Linked DNA regions of Homo sapiens: all the other regions are linked to region 2. Evidence: promoter capture Hi-C in 16 types of primary human blood cells and fetal thymus (Javierre and others, 2016). All regions are on one chromosome and are shown on one strand. The core of a region is centred on a gene start or on the middle of the fragment in contact, and the rest is flanking DNA. Distances in the headings are between cores, read along the strand shown. Region 1 overlaps GSG1L (GSG1 like). Region 2 holds the start of SBK1 (SH3 domain binding kinase 1). Region 3 overlaps SGF29 (SAGA complex associated factor 29). Region 4 overlaps GSG1L (GSG1 like). Region 5 holds the start of LOC124903674 (a long non-coding RNA gene).

Evidence for each region. The method cuts DNA at HindIII sites, captures the fragments that hold promoters and counts their contacts. A CHiCAGO score of 5 or more calls a contact.
Region 1: a contact is called between a fragment that was not itself captured here and the fragment with the promoter of SBK1 in region 2, in 2 of 17 cell types (M1 macrophages and neutrophils). The highest score is 5.3, in M1 macrophages.
Region 3: a contact is called between a fragment that was not itself captured here and the fragment with the promoter of SBK1 in region 2, in 6 of 17 cell types (endothelial precursors, naive CD4 T cells, megakaryocytes and 3 more). The highest score is 8.7, in endothelial precursors.
Region 4: a contact is called between a fragment that was not itself captured here and the fragment with the promoter of SBK1 in region 2, in 2 of 17 cell types (neutrophils and M1 macrophages). The highest score is 6.1, in neutrophils.
Region 5: a contact is called between a fragment that was not itself captured here and the fragment with the promoter of SBK1 in region 2, in 5 of 17 cell types (M0 macrophages, M1 macrophages, endothelial precursors and 2 more). The highest score is 6.8, in M0 macrophages.

The regions. Positions count from the first base shown.
Region 1 is chr16:28,012,035-28,014,734 of GRCh38, reverse strand. The region is part of intron 1 of GSG1L (GSG1 like); the gene reads left to right. Among named protein-coding and RNA genes, the nearest start is that of GSG1L, 50 kb to the left of the region's middle. The HindIII fragment of the contact is 3,230 bases long and covers 1-2,700 here.
Region 2 is chr16:28,291,244-28,293,943 of GRCh38, reverse strand. SBK1 (SH3 domain binding kinase 1) reads right to left here and starts at 1,419. Exons shown (of 4, transcript NM_001024401.3): 1 at 644-1,419. It overlaps LOC124903670 (a long non-coding RNA gene), which reads left to right and starts at 1,879. Exons shown (of 2, transcript XR_007065033.1): 1 at 1,879-2,177. RefSeq lists silencers at 1,319-1,548, 1,756-1,927. The HindIII fragment of the contact is 5,383 bases long and covers 1-2,398 here.
Region 3 is chr16:28,574,963-28,577,662 of GRCh38, reverse strand. The region is part of intron 1 of SGF29 (SAGA complex associated factor 29); the gene reads right to left. Among named protein-coding and RNA genes, the nearest start is that of SULT1A2, 21 kb to the left of the region's middle. The HindIII fragment of the contact is 4,261 bases long and covers 1-2,700 here.
Region 4 is chr16:27,988,228-27,990,927 of GRCh38, reverse strand. The region is part of intron 1 of GSG1L (GSG1 like); the gene reads left to right. Among named protein-coding and RNA genes, the nearest start is that of GSG1L, 74 kb to the left of the region's middle. The HindIII fragment of the contact is 647 bases long and covers 1,002-1,648 here.
Region 5 is chr16:28,612,668-28,615,367 of GRCh38, reverse strand. It overlaps LOC107984835 (a long non-coding RNA gene), which reads right to left. Exons shown (of 2, transcript XR_007065036.1): 2 at 1-30. LOC124903674 (a long non-coding RNA gene) reads left to right here and starts at 837. Exons shown (of 2, transcript XR_007065047.1): 1 at 837-1,164; 2 at 1,400-2,700. It also overlaps a transcript of SULT1A1 not described here. RefSeq lists enhancers at 1-102, 1,091-1,640, 1,641-2,191, 2,439-2,700. The HindIII fragment of the contact is 7,854 bases long and covers 1-2,700 here.

The DNA of each region.
Region 1 (2,700 bases), core at 60-2,559, 280 kb after region 2:
CTGAGCCTAGGAGTTCAAGACCAGCCTAGACAACATAGTGAGACCCCGTCCCTACCAAAAAAAAAAAAAAAAAAAAAAAATAGCGTGCCTGTAGTCCCAGCTACTTGGGAGGCTGAGATGAGAGGATTGTTGGATCCCAGGAGTTGGAGGTTACAGAGAGCTTTGATTGCCCTACTGCACTCCAGCGTGGGTGACAGAGCGAGACCCTGTCTCTTAAAAAAATGAAAATTAAGAAAATGACTCCCCTTTCCGTGTGCTTATCCCCACTCTTCAGTTTAGTCTGTATTTTTCCAGTTGTTTTCTCTATTATCAACCGCATACCTATGTAAAGAGATGGAAGCAGAGAGGTACAGTTCTACTCTCTGCTTTCTCCCCATGACAACATAACTGAGGCATGTTCCCGTGTCTGCACGTGTGGATCTGCCTCGTGCTCTTCAATAACTGTTTATTAGTATGTCCTCCCATGGATACACCTTTATTTATTCAGAATACATACTTCCTTTCAGCTTAGTGCAAATGTCATCTTCCTCCAGGAAGTCTTCCTTGATTCTTGCAGCACAAAATGGCCACTTCCTCCTCCAAACTCCTAGGTCCCTGTCCCTTTCTCAGGCTCTAGATGAGTCAGGGTAAGGCTATGCTGCTGTAACAAAGAGATCCTGCAATATGGAGGCTTGAAGAACAGGGCAGCTGTTTCTCTCTTAGGTCGTAGTCCTGGTTGGTGGGGCAGCTCTGCCCCTGCCAGTCATTCCAGGAGCCAGGCTCCTTCCAAGTCATTGCTCTGTATGCCCTAGGGCACCCTGGTCGTTGTCAGTGTGGCTGAAGTGAGCCACATAGGAAGGCAGGAGATGCCTGATGTCTTCACCCTGACACGGACTGTCCATTCACAAGCCATTGGCAAGAGCTTTGCATGGCCATGCCTCCTGTCTGGGAGGCCTGGGTGTCTGCAATGCCATGGAAGAAGAGAAACCAGCTTTGGTGTACAATCGCTAGTGTTTGCTATTATACAAACCTTGATGCCTTAACGTGGCGCTTGGGGTCCCCATGCTGTGGGAGATGAAATGCTGAGAGAGCAGGATCCAGGGCTGGTCCATCTTCGCATCTTCCTTCATGTCCTGTGTGGCACCTGGCACGTGGTCAGTGCTTGGAAAATGCCAAGCCCATGTGTGGACGTACAGTCACCAAATCAGAGAGTGGTGGGCAACAGGGTCTAGTAACATTTCCCTGCCAAGCACTGTTCTGGGCCCTGAAGACCCAAAGCATAGTTGCTCCACCCCCAAACATTATAGTCATGATCTCTTTGGGTTTCTGGAAAAGGAGATTCTCTTCCTGTGGCAGGGGCACATGCCATCTCTTCCTCCTGACGCCCACCTCCCTCTGCTCGCCAGCTCTCCTCACTTGCCTAGCTGGCTCCTACTGTATAACTCTCCATAAATGTTACCTCTCCCAGACTAGGTTGGCTCTCTCCATTATCCACATGTGTATTATATTTCTCCCTTGTAAGTTTTTTTTTTTTTTGAGTCAGAGTTTTGCTCTTGTGGCCCAGGCTGGAGTGCAATGGTGAAAGCTCACTGCAACCTCCACCTCCTGGGTTCAAGCGATTCTCTTGCCTCGGCCTCCCAAGTAACTGGGATTACAGGCATATGCCACCATGCACGGCTAATTTTTTGTATTTAGTAGAGAGAGGGTTTCACCATATTGGTCAGGCTGGTCTCGAACTCCTGACCTCAGGTGATCCACCCGCCTCGGCCTCCCAAAGTGATGGGATTACAGGTGTGAGCCACTGCACCTGGGCACTTGTAAGTTTTATAAATTGCATTGAAGTAACTTTTTTTTTTTTTTTTGAGAGTTCTTGCTCTGTTGCCCAGGCTGGAGTACAGTGGCATGATCATAACTCACTGCAGCCTTGAACTCTTGGGCTCAAGTGATCCTCCCACCTCAGCTTCCCGAGTAGCTGGGACTACAGATGCATGCTGCCACCCTCGATAATTTTAATTTATTTTAAAAATTTTTTCATAGAGACACGGTCTTGCTGTGTAGCTGAGGCTGGCCTGGAACTCTTGGCCTTGAGTGATCCTTCTATCTTGGCTTCCCAAAGCACTGGGATTACAGGCATGAGCCACCATGCCCAGCCAGAAGTATCTTTTTTTTTTGTATAAAATTTCATTTCAGGTCAATCTGCACTCTAAGTTTGTAAGCTCTATGATGACAGGTACAGTTTTGTGTGTTCAGTGCCTAGCAGACTGCCTGGCCCAATAGACATTCTGTCTACACATGTTAAATATTTAATCAATATTGTCACCGGTTCACCACGGATGAGAAAATGGAGGCTCAGAGAGGTTGAGTGACTGGCCTAAGATCACACAGCAAGTGAGTTTCAGCATTGGGATTTTGGGCTGCCTCCAGAGCTGCTGCTTTCACAGGCTAATGCAATTAGAATACCACATGATGTGTGCCATAACAGGGTATTAATAGGCTGTGTTTAAGGGGTGGTGGGAGGGCAGAGGGGGGCGTGACTGACTCAGCCTAGGGGAGGGGTGGCTGCCTGGAGGAAGCAGTGACCTTGGGGGCTCAGAAACCGTGGGGCATTTGGAGCAGCTGTAGCGACTGCGTGGGAGTATGAAATCTGAGACCAGAGCAGAGCTGGTTGTGAAGCTCCTGCTTGGGGGTGTCAGGGAGTTTGGACTTAGTTGAGCTGAGGGG
Region 2 (2,700 bases), core at 170-2,669:
CCTCACTTTGGGGGGTACTTACTCCCTCCCTGTCCCACAGGGAGTACAAAGTATGGTTTAGGTAAAGACCGCCAGTGTGGCCTGGGTCGGGCAGCAGAGTCACAGGGAAGATGCGATTCCCATTCATCCGCTCAAACACACCCCTTCCCCGCACTCTCACAGACAAAGACACACACCCGAAGCCCCAGCCATCACCCAGGGCCACATAAGGCAGCCCCCCTCACCTGTGGGCACCCCCAAATTTTCCCCTCTCGGGGGGACTTCACTAGAAGCTCAGCTTGGCCGTGGGGGAGGGGTATTCACACTCCAAGGACCTGGGGGCCAACCTCCAGGCTCGCAGCTTTTGGGGGGGGACTCTCCGCCCTCTTCCCCCCTCTCCATGGCACAACGGGCTCCACCACCACTCCTCCGTGGGGCCGGGGAGCTGCGCCCGAGCCTCAAGGCTAGGGAGTGGGGTGGGGGAAGGGAGAGGAGGAGGGGGCGGCTCCTCCAAGCGAGACACAAAGAGACGTCCTTCAGCCTCGGCTCCATGGCGACGCTGGGGAAGGGGGAGCGCGCAACCCGATACTTCCTTCCCCACCTGCAGGGCTATGGGGACCTCGGTGGCCACTCACCTGCCGCCCCTCACCTGGGCCCGGCTTACCTGGGCTGGGGCCGCGGGGACGCCGCGGCAGGGGGCCTGGGCGCCGTCGCGGTCTTCGTCTGCCCGGCCCCGGGGGCTCAGGGCGCCACGACCATGGACCGGGGTGCAAGCGGTGCCGCCAGGGGCTCAGTCGCCCAAGTCCTGGAGCTTTAGGGGGGGGATCCCCGAGGCTTCTTGCTGGTGAGAGTGTCTCTTGCTGTCCCCGGCTGCCTAGATTTGGGATTTCTATGTACCGGAGTTGGGGGGAATTGGGATCCCCTGATCTAGGGGCGTTCTGAGCTGGGTCTTCTTGTCTTGAGGTGTGGAGTTGTAATGACCGGATCTTGGGAGGGGGTTCTCGCAATCCCGGCCTGGGGGCACTGCGTTCTAGGTCTTGGGGCGGGGGCCCAGACTGAGGAGGGGGAGTCCTTGCGGTGCCGTAGGGGGCTTGCTGTCTTCTAAATACCGAGGAAGTCTCCGCTTTCCCCGCAGGGGAGTCGCTCGGTGTCGGATCCGGGAGGGCCCCCCCTCTTCCCCGAGGCTCGCCGGATCCTGGATGTGGAAGGGGGCTCCCCGCACTCCTCGGCTGCGGGGGCTTTAGTGGGTCCCGGCCACCGGCGGGCGCTGGAAGCCCCTCAGCCGCTGGGGGGCTCGGTCGCCGCCGCTACGAGCAGCCCGGCCCTGCGCTCCCGGCCCCCGGCCTGGCCCGGGCTCCGGCTGCGGCTCCAGCTCGCGCTCCGCCTGGCGCTCGGGCCCCGGCCCCGGCGCCCGCCCGGGCTGCGCTCCATCGCGGCATCGCGGCTCCGCCCTCCAGCCAGCGCGCACCTGCCCGCCCGGCCCGCGGCTCCGCCCTCCGGCTCGCGCGCCGCCGCCCGCCCCTTTGTCCGTCCCGCTCGGCGCGCGCCCTCGCGCAAGCGCGCTCACCCGCCGCGCGCCCGCCCTCCCGCCGCGCGCCGCGGAGCGCAGATTCTCCCCGCGCGGCGCCCCCACCCCCTTCCGGCCGCGCTGGGTCCTAGCGCCGGTGGCTCCCGAGCTGGCTCCCACCCCCCACCCCCCACCCACCCCACTCCTTTTCTAGGTCAGAGCCCACGAGGGGGCGAGAACGAGGTTACAGAGGACTCGGGGGAGTCTGAGAGGGTCACCTGGTCCAGCTTTCTGGGCCCTGCGGGACGAGACTGCCCCAGACTGTCCCGGTCTGTGCTAGTGGGGCGGAGCCTGTGTGTGTTTGAAGGAGGGAAAACAAATCCAGGTTCTGCATTCGGATATGCATTTCATTCATCCATGCGTCCGCCTGCCTGCCTGCGCTTCCATCCATCCATCCATCCGTCCGTCCATCCATCCATCCATCCATCCATGCATCCTATTTCCAGCGAGACGTCAGAGAACTCACAGTCTTCTTGGGGAAGAGGTCATAAACTTGGGCCTGGGTGGTTGCCCTATCCAACTGAGGTCGCCTTTGCGATCCCTGCTGCAAATAGGCAGTGACTAGTCCAGGAGTGCAGCTGGGAGGAACTGCTCGCCGGATAGAAGGGAAGAAAGGAGATTCTAGGCAGAGGTACAGCAGGTGTAAGGGATGTTGCATTGTCTGTTTGATAACCGGAAATTGGTGGCCTGGATGAAGTGGGTGGATGGGGACAGAGATGAGATAGGGACAGCTCGTCCTTCCAGGCCCTGTTCTTTCTCCTCCCTGCAGCTCACTCTTTCCCTAGTGAGAAAGCCCCAATAGGACGCCTTCCCTATTTCTTTCTTTTTTTTTTGTTTTTTTAGCTTCAAGCTTCAAAAGCATTTCTTTTTCATTCTTTTTTTTAATTATTATTATACTTTAAGTTTTAGGGTACATATGCACAACATGCAGGTTTGTTACGTATGTATACGTGTGCCATGTTGGTGTGCTGCACCCATTAACTCGTCATTTAGCATTAGGTATATCTCCTAATGCTATCCCTCCCCCTTCCCCCCACCCCACAACAGTCCCTGGTGTGTGATGTTCCCCTTCCTGTGTCCATGTGTTCTCTTTGTTCAATTCCCACCTATGAGTGAGAACATGCGGTGTTTGGTTTTTTGTCCTTGCGATAGTT
Region 3 (2,700 bases), core at 118-2,617, 280 kb before region 2:
TAAAAAAGAGACAAGAGTTGGGAAGGAGGTAGAGAAACTACACGAATGCATAAAGTGTGATATTATCCATACAGTGGAATATTACTTGACAGTAAAAAGAAATGAAGTACTGAGACACGCTATGACATGGATGAACCTTGAAAACATTATGCTAAGTGAAAGAAGCTGCAATCACAGAAGACCACATAATTGTGTTTCCATTTACGTGAAATATCCAGAATAGCCGAATCCATAGAAAGCTGGGTGGGGAAGGGTTGGGAGAGAAAGGACAGCGACTATTAATGAGTATGGGTTTTTTTGTTTTTTTTTTTTGGCCAGGTGTTGAAAATGTTCTAAAATTGTGCTGATGGTTGCACAACTCTGAATATACTAAAAACCAATGAATTGCACACTTTAAATACATGGTACATGGCCACCCCACCCCCAGGCAAATATTAATTTACTTTCTGTCTCTTTAGATTTATGTAGTCTGCACTTTTTTTTTTCTTTTTTAATGAGACAGAGTCTCGCTGTGTCACCGAGGCTGGAGTGCAATGGCACGATGTTGGCTCACTGCAACCTCCGCCTCCCGGGTTCAAGTGTTTCTCCTGCCTCCCAAGTAGCTGGGACTATAGGCGCCCACCACCACGCCCGGCTAATTTCTGTATTCTTAGTAGAGACGGGGTTTCGACATGTTAGCCAGGCCGGTCTCGAATGTCTGACCTTGGGTGATACGCCTGACCTCGGGTGATCCACCTGCCTCAGCCTCCCAAAGTGCTGGGATTACAGGCGTGAGCCACCATGCCAGGCCTGTGCTTTTATTGCTGAATAACTCCATTGTTTTGCTATATCATATTTTACATGTCAGTTCATGAACTGATGGACATTGGGTTACGTCTATTTTTTTGGCTATTATGAATAATGCTGCTATGAGCGTTGTGTACAGGTTTTTGTGTGGGCACGTTTTCTTTGTTTTTCTTTTTTGGGACAGATTCTAGCCTTGTTGCCCAACTTGGAGTGCAGTGGTGTGATCTCGGCTCACTGCAATCTCTGCCTCTCTCGTTCAAGCAATTCTCCTGCCTCAGCCTCCCAAGTAGCTGGGATTACAGGCACCCATCACCACGCTGGCTACTTTTTGTATTTTTAGTAGAGATGGGGTTTCACCACGTTGGCCAGGCTGGTCTCAAACTCCTGACCTTAGGTGATCCACCTGCCTTGACCTCCCAAAGTGCTGGGATTACAGGTGTGAGCCACTGCGCCCGGCCCTTCTTTTTTAATTTTAATTTTAGGTTTTGGGGATACATGTGAAGGTTTGTTGCATAGGTAAATATGTGTCATGGGGGTCTGTTGTACAGATAATTTCATCACCCAGGTATTATGCCCAGTACCCGATGGTTATCTTTCCCGCTTCTCCCTCCTCCTACCCTCCCCGCCCAGTGTCTGTTGTTTCCTTCTTTGTATTCATGACATGTTTTCATTTCTGGGTACATATCTATGAGAATTAATAATGTGTTTTTTTTAACGTATTTACACTATGTTTATCTTAATAAGTGTATTAAACATAAACTCTGTTTAACCTTCTGAGGAGCTGCATGCTGTTTCCAACTGGGTGACCATTTTACATTCCCACCTGCAATGTGCATTCCCACTCTGCATTTGCGCCAACACATGCTATTGTCTCTCTCTGTCATTTTTATTTTTGGCAGAGGCAGGGTCACACTATGTTGCCCAGGCTGGTGTCGAATTCCTGAGCTCAACCAATCCTCCTGCCTTGGCCTCCCAAAATGCTGGGATTACACGTGTGAGCCACCATGCCTGGCCTCTCTCTTTTTGATTACAGCCATCCTAGTGAGTCTGAAGTAGAGTCTCATTGTGGTTTTGATTTGTGTGTCCCTAACGGTTAATGGCATTGAGTATCTTTTCATATGCTGTTGGCCATCTGTATATATTACCATTTTAAAGTTTGGTTATTTGTCTTTTTTGTTTGCTTGTTTGTTTTGAGACGGAGTCTCACTCTGCCACCCAAGCTGGAGTGCAGTGACTCAATCTCAGCTCACTGCAACCTCTGCCTCCCGGCTTCAAGCAATTTTCCTGCCTCAGCCTCCTGAGTAGCTGGGATTACAAGGCACGCACCACAAAGCCCAGCTAATTTTTGTATTTCTTTTAGTAGAGACAGGGTTTCACCATGTTGACCAGGCTGGTCTCAAACTCTCAACCTCAAGTGATCCACCCGCCTTGGCCTCCCAAAGTGCTGGGCTTATAGGTGTGAGCCACCGTGTCCAGCCAGTTGTCTTGAGTTGTGTCCTTGGAAGCACATGTTTTTAATTTTTATGAAGACCAATTTCTTTTTCTTTTAGCTGCTTGTGATATTGATCTGTGTTGTCCCACATGTACGACACTGTTTTTACCACCACAGCTTTACACAATGCATTGTCATATAGAGAAGAACATATCCCCTTAGAAACATTTAGAGACCTAGGAACAGAAGCTACATCTGTGTCTCAGGTGGTGGTGAAGCCAGATGGTGGATCCTGGTGCCAGTACCCCCAGGGCTTGTATACCATAGGGAAAGGGTGGTTCAGAAGGGATGCACTGGACAACTGAAGTATGATAACATCAAGATGGTGTGACCCCATGGCAGGATTTATGGTAAGTATGTACTCTTACACAAGGAACAATAGACAAACTGGAAATCTTGGAGTCCTTTCCAGAACTGGAATT
Region 4 (2,700 bases), core at 76-2,575, 300 kb after region 2:
TTTTTTAAATTATACTTTAAGTTTTAGGGTACATGTGCACAACGTGCAGGTTTGTTACATACCATTTGACCCAGCCATCCCATTACTGGGTATATACCCAAAGGATTGCAAAACATGCTGCTATAAAGACACATGCACACATATGTTTATTGCAGCACTATTCACAATAGCAAAGACTTGAATTAGACTTTTAAAGGTCTGGATTTAGGAAGCCAAGTCACAGATTCGTCATCAAAATGTGCCTAAACTACCTGTATGAATTGGGTGAATTCTTTTCTTCTTGAGGTCCCAAAATATCTTGAGGTTCCTGGACCTGCTAGAAAGTGTCATTCTTTATTTATCACAGGTCAGGAATCTTGCAAGGGAACCATAAGACAAGGAACTAGGCCAGTCTTTCCAGAGGACCTTTTATTGGCTCTATTAAGTCAACCTCAATTCCTCAAAGCAGAATGGTCATATCTAAAAATACACCATTCTAGTCAAAACCTTGGCATAATAAGTATTTCCAATGTGTCCAGTGGCAAAAGAAAACGTATTCTTAGTGAATGTATGTTAATAACTATATTATAATAAAATAAGAATATTCATGAATAGTTTCCAAATTATGGAGAAATTAGAGGGAAATGTAAATGTCTCCATTTTGCTCACAAGTGTATACTTTGCCCAATTGCTGTAGATATAAATAGCTCAAAAGAAAGAAAAAAATTTCTTTGACTCTGAAAAACAAAACATAAAAAGAAACAACAATGGTTCAAACAAAAAGTCATAAAAATGATTTCAGTCCTTTATTATTTCAGACCCATGTGAGTAATTCTTGTTCTGCTTGATGTTGGGTTAGCAATCCTCATAAACACATCAGCTAATTAAGAGCCCTGGACGTTTCTACTAGCCTAATGGTATCATCTCCAAAGTTATCAGAAACCTGTTATTCAAGATGACTTGTCAGGGTCCTTTCCATGAATTTCCTCGAAGACACCACACTTTAGGGTTTGCAAAAAGCTTTTAGGAAAAAGAATCAGAATAAAGCAATTAACTGCATATACCAAGACATATCAGACATTTAGGAATTTCCTCCAATTTTGGGACACATATTAATAACACATTTATACAAATACAACTCAAAGAAAGTTAAACACCATTTCTTATTTGACAACGTTTCCCATATAATTGTTTGTTGTTTTTTTTTTTTAGACTGAGTCTCACTCTGTTGCCCAGGCTGGAGTACAGTGGTGTGATCTCAGCACACTGCAACCTCTGCATCCTGGGTTCAAGTGATTCTCGTGCCTCAGCCTCCCAAGTAGCTGGGACTACAAGCATTTGCCACCATGCCTGGCTAATTTTTGTATTTTTAGCAGAGGCAGGGTTTCACCATGTTGGGCAGGCTGGTCTCGAACTCCTGACCTCAGGTGATCCACCTGCCTTGGCCTCCCAAAGTGCTGGGATTACAGGTGTGAACCACCGCTCCTGGTCCGTATAATTTTAACATAACAAATAAGCCTAGTATATCTCTCTTGGCCTTTCAGGGGCCTATTTGTTATGTCTAAGTTAGTTTGGGTCAAGAAGACTTAAGTTTAGAATTTGAAATTTGCTTTTGGGAAGTATGTCAAATATCAAAGGTTAAAACACTTGATATCAAAGTAAGAAAGCTTTAAAACACTTTATCAAAATAGGATCCTGGATGACTGCAAAATAATAGTCATTTAGCCAAAGTGATAACTCAAAGATGGCAAAAAGCAAAAACCTTTACTCTTTGATAGAGAGGAGACTGAGTTTTCCAAAAAATCCAAAGCCCTAATAAAGACAGCGTGAAACTGTCTCTCCTTCTCTCCTTTTTTTCTTTCTTTTTCTTTTTTTCTTTTCTTTTTTTTTTTTTTTGAGACAGAGTCTTGCTCTGTCACCTAGGCTGGAGTGCAGCAGCACAATCTCGGCTCACTGCAACATCCGCCTCCCGGGTTCAAGCAATTCTCCTGCCTCAGCCTCCCGAGGAGCAGGGATTACAGGCATGCACCACCATGGCTGGCTAACTTTTGTATTTTTAGTAGAGACGGGGTTTCACCATGTTAGCCAGGATGGTCTTGATCTCCTGACCTCGTGATCCGCCCACCTCGGCCTCCCAAAGTGCTGGGATTACAGACGTGAGCCACCAGGCCCAGCCCTCTCCTTTTTTTTTTTTTCTTAATTGCAGTTGACTGAAAAGGTAAACAAAATAATTTTCTCTCTTATTAATATGACATAAATTCTTGTTTAAAGGAGAAAATGAAAATTTACTTTTATATTAGTGTATTATCAATACAAAAGCTAATTTTAATAAAACCCTATAAACAAATCCATCCAATTTCAGTCAGCTTTGGACCACACAGATAAGATTCCCACAAATCCTTTATAACTGCTTATAAGACTTTTTTCTACTTTTTTCTTACCTCAACTTTTAGATTCATTTATTTTTATCTATACCATTTCTCCTTCATTTTGAATCAACCTTTAAATAACCTCTAAACTAGAAAAAATTACTTTTCCTTCAGCAAAAACCACAACCTCATGTCTTTTTAATAACATTTCTTAACCTAAAATACATTTTGCTTTCTTTATACACTCTGTATATAGAATTGTTTCTCTTATATCTAGTAGTTTAAATTACCATAATTTCAACTCCTAGTAAGCTTAATTTCCAGTGAAAAACCCAGGAAGTAAGTAATTTTG
Region 5 (2,700 bases), core at 36-2,535, 320 kb before region 2:
CCTTCTTCATCAATGTCATCTACCTCATACCTGTGGACAAAAGGAGGAAAATGCAGGATGCAGCCAGGGGCACAGTCCCTGTAGGGGAGTGTGGAGGACAGGGGCAGGGCAAGGACCCGGTGCTCCCTGCACAGCCGGCCCCGCCCACAGCACGCTCTGTGGAGTTTTTCTCCTGCTGTGCAGATGAGAAGCAGAGTGGCAGCCCAGGCAGGTGCAGTGACCAGAGAGCAGCCCTGGGGCTGTTGGAGGAGCCCCTGGGAGCCTCCATCTCCCGAGTGAGCCCAGCAGGACTGTGACCCGTTCGGCCAGGTGTCCTACAGGGGCTGCTGGGCTCAGCTACAGATGGGCGAGACCGCAGCATAGTGGGCGCCCAGCGGGAAGAACCAGGGAGGGACAAAGTGAGTTTGCAGGTGGTGGAGAGGCTCTCTTCTTGATGTCGGTGCTGAACCAGAAGTGTGTTTAAGGAGAATTTCCTAAAATTCAAAGAGTTCCACGGGAGTCGCGGCTAGGCCGGGGCGCTTCTTCAGCATCTACCTGCTCTACGGCCTGAACCCCCGTCATCAGGGCCACGTTTATATGGGGTTCACTGTCAGCCCTGCTTGTCAGGTCCAGCAGCACAATGGGGGCCACACAAAAGGCAGGGCCCAGGCCTGGCGCGGTGGCTCAAGCCTGTAAACCCAACACATTGGGAGGCCAAAGCGGTTGGATCACTTGAGGTCAGGAGTTCGAGACCAGCCTGACCAACATGGTGAAACCCCGTCTGTAATAGAAATACAAAAATTAGTCGGGCATGGTGGCACGTGCCTGTAATTACAGCTACTCAAAAGGCTGAGGCGGGAGAATTGCTTGAAAGATGGGGCAGGGGGCAGCGGCAGAGGTTGCAGTGAGCCAAATCGGGCCATTGCACTCCTGGTGAGACCGGAAGGGTCTCTGTGCCAGGAGGAAGGCTTCCTGGAGGAGGCGGACCCCGCTGGGCACAAGCCTGATGAGAGGGAAGGGCATGCCTGTGACATGGGTGGGGAGTCCAGGGTGGGGACGGGACTGTCACAGAGGAGGAGCATGACGGGGAGACAGTGCCCTGGGAATCTTGGCGGTGGAACTCCGGGGAGGAGCTGGCTGGGGCGGAGGTGATGATCCAGGATGCGGGCCAGCGTAGGGGTCTTGGTGGGCATGCTGGGGTCGGATGGAGCGCAGGAGAGAGAAGAGGGGGGACAGGTGGGTACCTGGGCTGGAGGCGCGGCCTGAGGTGGGCAGGTGCAGGGGGCGTGACTTCATTTAGGGGCAGGGCCTGGGGCTAGGCTGAAGCCGGCAGTGAGGACCCCGCTCTCGGGTGGAATTGGAGGGGACCCGCGGTTGGGCGCGGCAGGGCTCACAGGGACACCCCCGTTCTCCTCCCCAGGGAGAAAGTGCTCGTCGTGCACGGCTTCCCGCCCGCCGTGGCAACCCTTCGGGTAAGGAAGGAGACCAGGCGGCGGCAGGCGGGCAAGGGCTTGGGGTCCGCCCCCCTGCCTGGAGCCGCCCTAACTCCTCCGTATCCTGCCGCTGTTGGAGTGGGCCTGGAACCCCCTCCATAGGCGCGCCTCCTACTCCCGCTGCACCCCGACCTCCGCCGGGACCTCTATGCGCCGCGCCGCACGGGCGATGGCCTTCGGGCCTCCCCGGCCCCAGGGCACCGCGCAGGTCCCTTTGCTGGCACCAAGCCCGAGCCTGAGCCGGACCCGGGGCCCAAGAGGCCTGTGCGCCCTGCGAGCCCTTGAGCTCCAGGGGAGGTCCGCCCCAGGCAGGGCGGCTCATCCCCCAGACCACTTCGGATCCAGCTGTTTGTTGAGGAGCCAGGAAACGCCCTGACACTTTTGCGGCCCTGTCCCCGTCTCTAAGATGGGGATGATAGTATTTCTGGCCATTCCTGAGCACAGCAGGACCTGCCTTTTCCCTTTGACTGGAAGGTTCTTCTCTACACCTATCTTGATAACCTGCCACCTCCACAGGGAGGTCTTCTCTATCTCCCGATTTAAAATTGCAGCTCTGAGAAGCCGGGCATGGTGGCATATGCCTGTAGTCCCAGCTACGGGGGGAGGCTGAGGTGGGAGGATCGCTTGGTCCCAGGAGTTGGAGGCTGCAGTGAGCTCTGATCGCTCCACTGCACTATAGCCTGGGCAAAAGAGCAAGAAACTGTCTCTAAAAATATAAAATAAAATTGCACCTCTTGTGTACTTCCCCGTCTGCTTCTTTACCTGAATACTTACTATCTCACCGGCTAGGTGCTTTATGACTCTCGTTAGTCTCTCCCACCCCAACCTTTGCACTACATTGCCCGAGGGCAGCTCTTGTCACTGCTGTAGAACAAAGTCCTGCACAGAGACGATAGCCAAGAAATAGTTAATAAAATAATGGAAAACGGGTGCCTTCTACTGAGCACCCGCTAATAGTGAGTGAGTAGAGGACTTGCCCTGGGGACATTCAGTGACCTGCTGGGTGTTGCTGAGCTGTGAGGAAGTTCAGGTCTGGCTGCAGTGGTGAGGCTGTGACTCAATCAATCACTGCTGATGCTCCCAGGACCTGCACCAGCTTAGTCCCAGGGGCAAGGATTTTAAACCCCCACCTCCATTTCCTCATCTGTAAGATGCAAATAACAGTCACCTCTGCCTCACGGGATGGAGCTGTGTAATGCCCGGAACAGTGCCTGCTGCATAGAGGGGT